Linked DNA regions of Homo sapiens: regions 2 and 3 are each linked to region 1. The links are contacts of gene promoters, found by promoter capture Hi-C in human tissues and cell types (Jung and others, 2019). All regions are on one chromosome and are shown on one strand. Each heading gives the region's core, a stretch centred on a gene start or on the middle of the fragment in contact. The rest is flanking DNA. Distances are from core to core; before and after follow the strand shown. Region 1 holds the start of DNAJC5B (DnaJ heat shock protein family (Hsp40) member C5 beta). Region 2 overlaps LOC102724687 (a long non-coding RNA gene). Region 3 overlaps LOC102724687 (a long non-coding RNA gene).

Region 1 (4,453 bases), core at 844-3,343:
TTCAAGGGTATACACACACACATTCATAAACAAAGTATTATCTACCTAAACAGGAAAAGACAAGGCCACAGGAAGACCGTATATTTATTATAAAGTAAAAATCTGGTAAATTGTATACATGTTTTTTTAAGAAAAAAAGGATTACTTCTAATCAGCCCTCAATTTACAGTAGCTAGTCAATTTCCCTGGTTTTATTTTCACTGTTATCTCAGTGTTTTGAATGGGGTCTTCAGTGCTTTTTCTTGTCATTGACCAAAGCTTATCTTGTATGGAGGTGCAGAGGCTAGGAGAATATCTGCTTTTACCAATAACCACACCAAGGTGATAAATGAGATTTCCTCCTTTTAGAATATTCTAACTTAGAAAATCAAAGAGTTAGTTCAAATATGAACCAATACATTCATTCATTGTGGGGCAGAGTGTATTGGAGAGGCCACCAGGCTAAGAGTGAGGGGGCTTAAACTTTAGTCCCCAGCACTAACTAGCTTGATACCCTTAGCTGAGACACTTCTCTGTGTGGTTTCTCCTGGAAACGAAGCTGTGGAATGGATGATCTTCTAGTTCCCCTCCGACTCTAAAATTCTGCAGTATGCGACAGGCTGCAGCAGCATGTGACTAACACAAGGATCAGGGAACGTTACAGTCAACAAATGCAAATGGAGATGAGTTAGGACATTCTGTGTTTTGTGGGTATTATCTGAGGTTCAGCTTAAACTTAGTTTTCAATGGCTATCAATGAAGGAAGCCTAAAAACTGGGCCAATGAGATTTTAATGTTCAAGTCTTAAGTGGTTATGATTAGATCATAACCTAATTGTGAAAATCACAGTGACTTCTGTACAGAAGTTGAATGTGTGCTATGAAGTTTATGTGCAAGTATATTTTGCTTTTATCTGGATCTCTCAGTTTTACATGCTTTGGGGACTATTACTACTTTCATAGAGTGTGAGAGTATTGACCTTACTGCTGTGATATATTTATTCGTGATGTGTTGGAGGCCAAGGAGAGTTAGAGTTGTGTCCTGTGGATAGAGAATCCATCTCCTCCTCTTCTTGTCGATGGCTGTTGGGGTCCCCTGTGGGTAACTGACCTACCTGTCAGAACATGGACTCTTACTCCCACTGAGGGAGCATCGCCATCAACTCTGACCTTGCAGGCAGAGCTCAGCGTGCCTGCCTGAGCTGTCCTGTGCTCCAACTCCGGGGTCGCAGTGTGCTAAGACCCAAGGGAGTCCACATGGGGATGAGTCAGGGCCTGGCGCTGGCCCCATGCTCCGCCCCACTGGTAAACAGAACAGTTCTTTGCCGTCACTCAGAGCCTCTCAGGGCCCCAAGACTCCAGGAAGAAACAAGTATTGTAGAAGCCAAAACCCCAAGGCAAGGTAAAGAAAACAGAACTGTCCGCATCCCCAGCAATGATTTCACTGGCAGGAGTTGCTGGGGGCGGGGTGGGGGGTCCGGTATATGTTCCAGCAGAGCTGTTTTACTTACTTCTCAACCAAAAGGCCCTTCTCTTTTACTCTTTATAGGGGTATCCTTTTGCCTTTCAAGATTTGAACTTTCAAAACTTGACCTTAGAGTCAGTCTTGCTTGCTAACCCATAATACAACTTTGCACCTTTTATTACTTTTGTTTGTTTTTGTACTGGCTTCTATTAAAATACTTCCTTAGTTAACTTATTTTTGTTTACTCTACCCTGTCATCCGGGGAGGAGCTATTGAAAGAAAAAAACCTCTAAATAGAAATATATCACCAGCAGCACAAGTGGACTACAGCCTCGGAAATGTCCTCACCGTCCGGCTTCATGGCAAGCAGCCTGGCTGTTGGCAAGATGCGCCCAGCTCTGCTTCTGCTCGTGTGGAACCTTACATTACCCTAACGCAGCTGGGGCACAAGCCGTCTGTGCTTATACTATTCTTCTTAAGCTTGGAGACACACTCACCTTGAGATCTCTCCTCTTTTTCATCTAGACACTGGCAAGTCCTGTTCTGAGCTTAGCAATGCCAAGTACCTGAACTGGAGGCATGGCTGGCTGATCCCTTCTAGCTCCCTCCAGTAGTGTCCCACCTTGGCTATATCAGTAACTGCGCCTCCTGTTATTTCTCCTTCCCAGTTGTCAAGGTCAAACCTGGGCTGGATATTGTGATGTCACAGAGTGGAATCCTCACTCCTCCAGATGGTCCAGCTGAGGCCCTCTTGGACAACACTTCCTCTCCTGCCCATGGTGGGAGGTTGGGAAGGACATTCCCCCATTTCCATTTGCTCTGCCATTCAAAACCTTGTGAGGGCCCTCAGGGAAGAATCCCTTTGCAGGTCATAAACTGACCTGCAGAATTATGGGATCTTAACTGTGGGGAGAGACCTAGAAGACCGGCTAGTGACCAGATTCTCATCTAACTCCTTTTTTTTTGCAGATGAGGAAACTGAGGCCCCACGTGGTGAAGACAATTTTTACCCGAATCCACCCACAACAAGAGACCATTTGGATAATGTACATTATGGGAAGAGAACAGAGTCTCAGTGAAGATCATGTTTCCCCAGCAACACAGGTGCCAGGAGTAGCTGGCTCTGGTCCCAGCCCAGACTCAGAAATCCTGAGCCACCAGACCATTTCTAGATTAACAAGTAAGGTGACTTCTGAGCAACTAATGTTTTCATTGAGATTTGATGATAAGCAGCAAAGCTCAAATGAAAGTCCAGAGTTAGTGTTGGCAGGGCGAGATGGCTCATGCCTGTAATCCCAGCACTTTGGGAGGCTGAGGTGGGAGGATCACTTGAGCCCAGGAGTTTGAGACCAGCCCGAGCTATATAGTGAGACCCTATCTCTACAAAAAATACAAAAATTAGCTGGGCGTAGTTGTGCGTGCCTGTAGTTCTAACTACTCAGGAGGCTGACAGGGGATGATCGCTTAAACCCAAGATATCGAAGCTGCAATGAGTTGAGATTGCACCACTGCACTCCAGCCTGGACGGCAGAATGAAACCTTGTCTAAAACACACACACACACACACACACACACACACACACACACACACACACACACACACACACAGAGTATTGATTACAGCGCTATACCAGGTTCTAGTGTTGAGTAAGGGACAGGGAGGAGCAATCTGTAAAGAAATAGAGTCTCACTGGAATTTCATTCTTCATTATTTCATACCCTTCACTTTTTCTAGACGCTAACCCCATATGATACTAAAAAGTATCTGTATTGCATCAGACGACGTATCTGTGAAGTCAGAGAATTGTGCTTTAAGAATCTCTCAAGAGGAGAACATATATTGGGCTTTCATAATACCAATAACATTTTACATCATGCTTCATTTACAAGCTATTTTCACACATATCACTCTATTTAATCTTCACAACTTGGTGAGATAAACAAAGTATTATTTTCAGTATAATTTTCTGGATGAGAAAATTATAGCTTAGAGAAGTTGTGTCTTGCACGAGATCACAAAGCTAATTAAGTGGAAAGGTTACTTAACATTAACTACAAACCAGATCTTCCACCAAGCCTTTTCCCCACCACAGGGCTTTGCTGGTTGGGGAGAAATTGTCATTTGGTCCCAGAACACACTTGAAGGCCACTGCCTTAAGCAACCCTTTGAGTAACAAGGAAGAAAGTATTCCCGTAGGTCATAAATACTGCTTTACTAACTTCCTAAATGTCTTCATAAAATCTTAGGGAAATGGTTAATGGACACTAATTTTAAACTTTAAAATAATATAATTATTGCCCTTTCTTCCAACAATTCCACATCTGTGAATTCTCCTAAGAGAACCATTATGGATATGAAAAATATTTAGCTACAAGAGGTTTTTTGAAGCACTGTTTATAACAGAAAACAAATATAAAGCTCAGCATTGGAAAAGTGGTAAAATGGATTATGCTGAACTCATGAAAATAATGTCAGGGTTTCCCACACTTTGATTATTCATGTGGCATCTTCAGAATATTGCCATCTGCACTAATATTTACTTAACATTTTCCTTTAAATTAATTCATACATTTTACTGGAATAAAATTATTTAAAGGTATTTTTTATTATTAACATAAGTAGAAATACAGTATTAATTGCCTTAAATGTCAGATGACAATAAAAACAAATACAATGAAAACAAAGTAATGTTATTAATGCATGAATTTGGTCCCAATACCTTGAAGAAAACATATGACTGATTTAATAAAATCACAAGTAATCCCTTTTTTTGCCATCACAAACTTCACCTTTCTGCATTAAAAAATCTCTTTTTTCACCTCTGATCTATAAAAGGTTCAATGGAAAAAAGATATGCAGTGTGTGTCTGACCCCAAATCACAGTTAGATATATTTATGCATACCTTGCATACTAAATCAGTAATTCTCAAAACTTGCTTGAAAGGTCACCTTGCTTAGAACAGGGTATTCCTCTGGCAGGATATGCAGGGATCAAACCTCTTTGCTCAA
Region 2 (4,453 bases), core at 867-3,366, 350 kb before region 1:
TAATACATATTAAGACATACAAAATAAAAAATTATAAATGATGATCTGAGAAATGGCAGTGGGCACCCTGACTGGACTCTTGCAGGTAGAGGACAGAGGCTGGGACTGCAGCAAGTGACTTGGGGAGGACGTGCATACTCCTTGTAGGGAGGGGAGACCAGCAAACTGGACAGATCTGATGCCTTGAGTCAGACCACACAGCTGCCTGTGCCAGTCTCTTCCTTCTTGAAGAATCACACAAAATGTGGGTGTGGCTGAGAGCTGAGATATTTATCCAATAAGTTCATTTATTAAATTTACTAATAAATACTAACAAAAAAATTTATTAGTTTTTTTCTTAATACAAAAATGGCATATTAATTGTAGAAAATTTATGAAGTGCATACAGTGAAAAAATTAATTATAATCCAATCATCAAGATACTGACATTTACATTTTAATAGCAGTCCTCAATTATTTACAAATATGTATAAAGTGTGTGTGTGCGTGTGCACACACATGCATGAGAGTGTGTATGTTTGCAGGTTGCTCAATGCATACTGCTTTGCAACCTACCTTTTTTCCAGGGAAGATTTCTTTTTTGAGAGGGCTGGATAGAGAACAGTGACAAAAAATGTTCTAAAATTTCTTCCTTTAGTGTTGCTTCTGAAAGATGTCAAGATTAGGATTGAGAATTGTGGTCATTGAACAGACTCATCCTCTCTTTCATGCATGTATAACCCAGTGTTCCCTCCATCCTGACTGGCCGAAGTGTATGGTCTAAGGTTCCATGAACTTAGTGACACTTAGCCCCTAAGTGCCCATGTTGGCAGGTAGCCCAGACTTTGCAACTCTGGGGCCCACTAAAGATTGATTCCTTCTTTACCCTGTATCTTCACTCGCCTTCTCTCCAATGGCTGATTTCCATCAGCATTCAAACATGCTCAAGCCTCTCTATTCATCACTCATCACCTTGGTTCTTTCTTCAACATATTCTACTCAGTAAATGGCATCCACAGAGTTGCTCAGGTCAAAAAGCTAGGACTCAATCTTAATTCTTGTTTTCCTTTCTCCTACGTTCAATCCGTGAACAAATTCTGCAGGCTTTATCTCTAGAGAGTACCTCTGATGCCTCTACTTTTCTGCATCTTCACTGTTACCACTCTAGAGTAAGCCACGATTGATATTTGCCTAGATATGCGAGTAGTCTGCTTAACTAGTTTCTCTACAGCCTCTTCTCCACATAGCAGCCAGTGAAGCCTCTGACAAACCCAAGCCCAATATGTCTTTCCTCTGCAGAAAGCCCATCAATGGCTTCCTGCACATTGAGAAGAATACTACATTCTTTATCATAACCTACAAGGCCCCTTCATAGGCAGGTTCTGTCCACATTTCTGCATTTGCCTCATTTACTTTCTCCTTCATTTGCTCTGGCTTTTTTACGGTTTTTTGAAAATTCCCATTTCTTTTGCTGCAAAGGAAGCTTCATCAGGGAAGAGACTGTGACTGTCTTCTTCATTGCTGAAGCATCACTGTCTATCCCAGTTCCTTGAGCACAATAAGTATTCTATGCGTGTTTTTTAACAAGTAGATGAATTTATGACCTAGTGAGGATGATCAAAATAAGTGCATAATCTTTAAAAATGCAAAGTCAAATGTGGTAAGTTTCTTAAGAGAGACTTGATTTAAGTAGTCTGGGAATTTATGGAGGGGTGCTGTGGTTTGAATTTTATGTCTCTTCAAAATTCACGTTGAAACCAAATCCCCAATTTGGTGACATTAAGAGGTGGGCCTTTAGGAAGTGATTAGGTCATAAGGGTTCCACACTCATGAATGGGATTAGTGCAACTGTAAAAGAGGCTTGGGCCAGGCATGGTGGCTCATGCCTGTAATCCCAGCACTTCGGGAGGCCGAGGTGGGCAGATCACTTGAGGCCAGGAGTTTGAGACCAGCCTGGCCAATGTGGTGAAACTCCATCTTTACTAAAAATACAAAAATTAATGGACATGTTGGTGCACACCTATAGTCCCAGCTACTCGGGAGGCTGAGGCACGAGCATCTCTTGAATCTGGGAGGTGGAGGTTGCAGTGAGCTGAGATCATGCCACTGCATCCAGCAGCTTGGGCAACAGCAAGACTCCGTCTCAAAAAAAAAAAAAAAAAAAAAAAAGAGGCTTGAAAGAGCCTGTTTCCCCTTCTCCTATGTGAGGACACATCTATGAGGAAAAGGCCTTCACCAGACACTGAATCTGCTGGCACCTTGATCTTGGACTTCCAGTCTCCAGAACTGTGGACAATAAATTTCTGTTGTTTATAAATTACCCAGTTTAAGGCATTTTGTTATAGCAGCTTGAGCAGATTAAGACAAGGATGTGCTTACTCTGGATGGCAGTCACTGAGGACTTATGGATGAGGAAATATTTGAGCTGGATATCAAGGGTACATAAGACTCTCCAGGCTCGAGTAAAGCAGCAGAGTCTGGAGAGGGGGACAACTAATCCAGAGGAATCAGGAAATAAAGTATATGTAACATACCTGTACAGATTAGGGCTGGAAAGGTAATTCTGGATCTGATCATGTGGTGTCTGTTCTGGTCATGCTGAACATGCTAGGCTAAAATGTTTAGACAGTTCATCTCATGAAGGAAGCACCTCCCTATGCCCCAGGGAGCAAAATGATCACAGACATAAGGAGAAACATTGGTTCATGTTCTTAGATGGTCAACAGTGGAATGAATGAAAAAAGAAGGAACAGATGTGAGGTTTACCCTTTAAAAACCATCAATAGGAATTGGTAACTGATAGAAAGTGACTAAGTATGAGATGAAAAACCAAATGCAGACTTGAGCTTGGGTGACTCAGAAAATTGATAGAAATAGAAAATCATGAAAAAAGGATTTTTTGTGTGTGTGTGTGTGACAGAGTCTCACTCTGTCACCCAGGCTGGAGTGCAGTGGTGCGATCTTGGCTCACTGCAACCTCCACTTCTCTAGGTTCAAGTAATTCTCCTGCCTCAGCCTCCTGAGTAGCTGGGATTACAGGCATGAACCACCATGCCTGGCTAGCTTCTGTATTTTTCGTAGAGATGGGGTTTTGCCATGTTGTCTAGGCTGGTCTCAAACTTCTGATCTCAGGTGATCCACATGCCTTGGTCTCCTAAAGTGTTAGGATTACAGCTGTGAGCTACCATGCCTGGCCTGGGTTGAATCTTGTTGAGTTTAAGGTAGCAATGAGCCATCCAGTTTGTGATGGAATTTGGGAGTAGAGGAAAGATAGAGATATAATTTTCACTAATTAATTCATTTGTCCAGTGATTATTTCTTGAGCATCTAGCATATGCCAAGTATGGTATCAGGCATTGGGAAAAGCATAAATCCTGTCCCTAGGAGTTCCCTTTTTCTATATCTAGCTTTTTGACCCAGAAAGACATGCCTCTGTTGATACAGAATTTCAAATGATCAAGATCAACAATGTAATTATTTGAATGTGCATGGATGTTTATATTTCTCAGTTCTGCTATGATTATAGGCTTGTATTCATAGTTTCATTATGCATATATAATTGCTCATGATTTGTAACTTAAAGTTAACAGAAATCCTAATTTGATGATTAGAAGAAACAATTTGAGGATCTACATGTGTCCTTCACTTTTTTTTTTTTGAGACAGAGTCTCGCTCTTTCGCCCAGTCTGGAGTGCAGTGGCACAATCTCGGTTCACTGCAATCTCCCCTTCTGGGTGCAAGCGATTTTCCTGCCTGAGCCTTCTGAGTAGCTGGGACTACAGGTGTGCTCCACTAGGTCCAGCTAATTTTTGTATTTGTTTTTTTTGGGTAGAGATGGGGTTCCACCATGTTGGCCAGGCTGATCTCAAACTCTTGACCTCAGGTGATCTGCCTGCCTTGGCCTCCCAAAGTGCTGGGATTACAGGTGTGATATCTATGATTTTTAACCCATAATTAGGCCATCTCATTTATCTATCTAATACAGTGAAATGACACTGAAAGAAAAGCCCAAAATAACAATTCCATTGTCCTGGAATTTGGAAGGCTTTTGTTTCTCCCTGGAGCTTATCAAAGGGTATAAGTTCTGTGGATAGTTTTAGCTAGGGTGTCAATCTGGAGACATCTTCAAAAGGGAAACAATACCTCCTGCACTCAGCCTCAGAAGATGCAGGGATGGCTATTTAATGTTATTTAATATTATTATTTTTCTATTGGAGGAGGATGGGATATTGACGACAAGGTGAGGAAAACTGTGGGAACAAATTGGGAGGCAGAAACCCAGGGTAACTGGGGAAAATGGTCTTGAGAAAAGGGAACATGAGTTTAATTGTAATCATGAACTTCAACTTCTTTGTTATCCTATTTTATTTGCACAACTGCATGCAGATTTGAACAGTAATTATCTTTCCCAATCTACAGAAGGAAACTGAAGCTCAGAAAAGTTAAGTGATGAAGGTTACAGGTCTAAAAGATA
Region 3 (4,453 bases), core at 1,312-3,811, 320 kb before region 1:
GCTAAACCATATTACCCAGTAAGCGTTAAATATTATTCTTTGAGTTGTTGAGGATAAATTTTGCTCTTGGGAATAGCCATGATCCAACTTTAATTTGGCTGGCAGCTGTGACTTGCTCCGTCAGCTGCACTGATGGGAGAGGCACAAACATCTGGATGAATCTTTCCTTAAGTATCATTTGCCCGGTTTATAATGAAGTAAATGTAACTCTTGGGCCCCTTGAAAGACGTACCCAGGCTCCATCATAATAAAAACACTTATTAGGGACTTAAGATGTGCCAAGTACTTGATATGCATCATTTATTAAATCTTTATGAGGATTCCATGAGGAAGTCCTAATTATTCCCACTGTTAAATATGAGAAGACCTCCCCTGGGTCCTCTGGGAAGCCAAGAGCAAGGCCTCCACTTGCAAACAAAATGTTTACAATGTCACAAAAATAACTTTTGTCATTTGATGGAGGAGAATCAAGCAGATGCAAGGACTAGATGATTCATAAGGTAACCTCAATACTTAATGAAGACCTAGGCCAGGCGCAGTGGCTCATGCCTGTAATCCCAGCTCTTTGGGAGGGCCAAGGTGGAAGAATCACTTGAGCCCAGGAGTTTGAGGCCAGCCTGGGCAACATAGCAAAACCCTGTCTCTACAAAAAAAATATAAAAAATTAGCCAGGCGTGGTGATGCGTGCCTGTAGTTCTAGCCTCTTGAGAAGCTGAAGTGGGAGAATTGCTTGAGCCAGGGAGGTTGAGGTTGAGGCTGCAGTGAGCTGTGATCGCACCACTGCATTCTAGCCTGAGTAACAGAATAAGACCCTGTCTCAAGAAAAAGAAAAAATTAATGAAGACTTGAGCGTGTATGCAACAGAGGTCAATGATCTTTCACATAATCTTCAGCATCACTTGCTCCTGGGCCTGGGGGTGACCGGCCACAGGGCTCCCTGCCACATTTCCTGCGGTGTCTCCTGCTGATGGGATCCCAGCATTCAGCCGCTCCAGAGACGTCCATTTACCTGGGCTCAGCTGGTCCCTTCTAGTTACTTCCACACACAATTCTCAGAGTTTAGGAATTCGCTTTGAGCAAGGCAAGGCACTGATTGGTAATTGTATTTTTTTTTTTGTAATTGTATTTGTTTTCTAGTGTTGCTGTGACAATTTAACACAAACTTAACAGCTTAAACAATACAAATTTATTATCTTACAGTTCTGGGATGTCAGAAGTTCCAATGTGGGTCCCACAGAGCTAAAATCAAGCTGTTGGCAGAACTACTTTCAGTTCTGAAGGCCCCGGGGGAGAATCTGTTTCTATCCCTTTTCCAGTGTCCTTGGCCCATGGCCCCTTCCTCCGTGTGGCTGGCAGAGCCTTCCTCTTGTTGCCTCTCTCTGCACCTCCTTCTGTCATCCTGTCTTTCTCTCTCCGCAGTTGGAAAGGGTCTCTACTTTTAAGGGTCTGCCAAGATAGTCTTATTGGTTTAGGAGCTTCAAACTTAGTCACATCTGCAAAGTCCCTTTGTCATGTAAGGTGACATATTCACAGATTCCAGGGATTAGGATGTGGACATTTTCTGGGGAAGGGGGAGATTATTCTGCCTACCACAGGAATGAAGCTGAAAATGAGATGTCTGATGTCATCAGTTTAGAGTGCAAACAATGTCACCCATAGAGACTCAGATGTCACCCCTAATTGGTACACCTGAGGCCTGATCTGACTTTTGAGTAGGAGGTTCTGGGTCTGAGGTGAGGGTGGGAGGTGAGCCCTCCTGTGACCAGTTCCTGATTCCCAGTGATTTAATCCAGGCTGTGAGCCTTGGTTCATTTTGCCTTGGAGAGAGTTAAGTGTTCAGTACCCTAAGCACACTGTCACTGCCCCGGCGTGGGCATCTGGTAGGGTCATTCAAGGGCTGTCTGCTGCAGAAAGTGAGGTGGTGTGGAGGTTGCCACATACAAAGCCTGCTGGCACTGCCACTGCTGCTTTGGCAGTACTGACTCAGGCAGGGTGGGAGAGTAGTGCCTCCTTCACTCATGGAAGCCTCATGCCTAAGTAGCCCAAGGATCTCAATGAGAACTTCCTTTAATGATGTGGCTTTTTTAGTCTGTTCATGGATCAACAGGCACTTCCCTGTGGTTAGCTGCCTCTACGGCCTGGTGAGATTCCCTTTGACCATCTGAGCCCTAACACCAGGGTGACCCTGAGGGTACTGCTTTCCTAACTTTCATAACTTCCATAAGTATGGCAACTTCAAAGCAGGAAGCAAATGAGATGGATTTCCCAATTCCTTCTTTTTCACAAAGCCCCTGGGCTTCTTATGCAAACTTATCCACCCCTCAGGCAACCTTCAAGCTTAATCCATTAATGGAATGTGTGTGGGGACAGGGAGTGGGGCCCTGGTGCTAGCGTGTTTGTTGAGTGACTCAAGGGGCCATTTTGGTGACTTGTCCAGAAATAAGCAAGGCTTCAGGACAACTCAGTGTCACTACTATCAAAAACCAAACAACAACTGGCAATTTCCAAATGATGATTCTTTCCATAAAGAATATTTAAAATTCCATTTTGCTGGGCATTACACTAGGGCAGCAGTCTTCAAACTTTTTGTCTTAAGACCTTAGTCCACTCTTACAAACAATTGAGTCTCTCTGCTTTTGTTGATGTGAGTTATATCTATTGATATTTATAATATTGAAATTAAAATTGAGAAATTTAAAAAGTTACACATGCATTCATCTTAATAATAAAAAACTCATTTTGTGTTAATATAGTTAACCCATTTCTGTGAAATCTAACTATATTTGTCCAAATACAAATTTGTGAGAGGAGTTGCCTTGTTTTACATTTTTGCCACTTTGTCAGCTGAAGAATAAGAGTCATAAATTTGAAAAGGAGAGCTTTATTTCTCATAAAGCGTTGCAACCTGCAGGGGGGCCATTCTGACAGGCTGGGAAGCATAGCCTTCAGTAAGAAGCTGGACAGACACCTCGAGGGAGGAGCAAAGGAAGCAGGAAGTTATGCTAAGGGGAATGGCTTAATATATATAACATATATAAGACAGAGGAGGAGTCATGAATATTTATGAAAGGAGAAATGTGCACATGTGCAATTGAGCTTCATGCCTCATTCATGGGTCCCATGTACAAAACATGGCGGTGTTAGGATGATCTGATGGTGGAATTTTTGGCCCTCTGATGTCAAAAGGCGAGGCAGAGGACACAAAAACCTTTACTATGCATTCTCTATAGGCTGGCCAGAACCGCTCCGTGGTCAGTGGTCTCTTAGCAGGAAGAAATGCTGTTGGTTGGTATGCCAAAACAACAAAAGGAGGGGCAGCGTCAGGCAGTTGGTTAAAGCAGTGGTGGAGTCCTTTTTTTTTTTTTTTTTAAGACATGGTCTTGCTCTGTCACCAGGCTGGAGTACAGCGGCTGATCATAGCTCCCTGCAGCCTCTGCCTCCTGGGCTGAAGCTATCCTCCTACATCAGCCTCCTGAGTAGCTGGGATTACAGGTATGTGCCACCATGCCCAGCTAGGTTTTTGTAGAGACAGGGTTCTCCATGTCTCCCGGGCTGGTCTTGAACTCCTGGGCTCAAGCAATCTTCCCTCCTTGGCCTCCCAAATTTCTGGGATTACAGATGTTTGCCACTGTGCCAGTGGAATCTTTTGAAAGGGTTGGCTTCTGTTTAGCCCTTAGGGAAGAAAGTATAATTCTAGTTGTGAGGGAGGGGGTATAACAAGAGGCTTGTCTGACCTCCTATCCTATCATGGCTGAGAACTCAGTTTTCAAGGTTACTCTGGGCCAAAAAGAGTTGGTTGGGGAGCTTAGGATTTTATTTTTATTTCTCAGCTTTATGTTTGGCATTGAAGGAAACCAGAGAACTTCATCGCCAAATATGCCTCTTTGACATAAACATTTTTGAGCTAGAGACAATTTGGAAGCAGCAATTATAAAAAAGGACTCTCTGAACTTTCCTTTCTCACATGTGTCAGGCCGTAAAAATTCTTGTGAAAAATATGCAGGGGGCGCTTCTTTCACCCCTTTCTGCCTGATTAGCTCAGAGACTGATGCCACTCGAGGCAGAAAAATCTGGGAGCAGACTTTACCACATTCCCATTGTTTTCCCACCTTTTGGGAGCCTGAAGCTGTTTATGCCTTTGTCTTCTCACTTCTAAATGTATTGTTGTTTGTTAGAGATGCTATATAAGCTGGGACCTTGACCCATCATTTTGTGAGATACTTTTGAACTGAAGTTTCTCCTGTGTTATGAGCACAGCACATGTAGATAGAAACACTTGTTTTTTTTTTCTTTCTTGTTATTCTGCTGTTTATTAACAGGAAACTGTCCCAGTGTAATTGCCCGATGGGTTCTTCTTGCCTGCTGCACAGACAAAGCCAATGTACCAAGAAAACAGTGTTGCAGTAGAGAAAGAGTTTAATTATCACAGGGCCTGCCAAACAGGAGGACGAGA

What was found. Contacts are between HindIII fragments. The study calls those that stand out against the background at their distance.
Region 2: a fragment that was not itself captured here is called in contact with the fragment with the promoter of DNAJC5B in region 1 in 2 of the 25 tissues and cell types used here (aorta and thymus).
Region 3: a contact is called between a fragment that was not itself captured here and the fragment with the promoter of DNAJC5B in region 1, in 1 of the 25 tissues and cell types used here (mesenchymal stem cells).

The regions. Positions count from the first base shown.
Region 1 is chr8:66,019,193-66,023,645 of GRCh38, reverse strand. DNAJC5B (DnaJ heat shock protein family (Hsp40) member C5 beta) reads right to left here and starts at 2,093. Exons shown (of 6, transcript NM_033105.6): 1 at 1,941-2,093. It overlaps LOC105375883 (a long non-coding RNA gene), which reads left to right and starts at 2,165. Exons shown (of 7, transcript XR_929008.3): 1 at 2,165-2,222; 2 at 2,413-2,623. The HindIII fragment of the contact is 3,729 bases long and covers 1,092-4,453 here.
Region 2 is chr8:66,369,904-66,374,356 of GRCh38, reverse strand. The region is part of intron 1 of LOC102724687 (a long non-coding RNA gene); the gene reads left to right. Among named protein-coding and RNA genes, the nearest start is that of RRS1-DT, 57 kb to the left of the region's middle. The HindIII fragment of the contact is 6,849 bases long and covers 1-4,453 here.
Region 3 is chr8:66,342,355-66,346,807 of GRCh38, reverse strand. The region is part of intron 1 of LOC102724687 (a long non-coding RNA gene); the gene reads left to right. Among named protein-coding and RNA genes, the nearest start is that of RRS1-DT, 84 kb to the left of the region's middle. The HindIII fragment of the contact is 4,941 bases long and covers 91-4,453 here.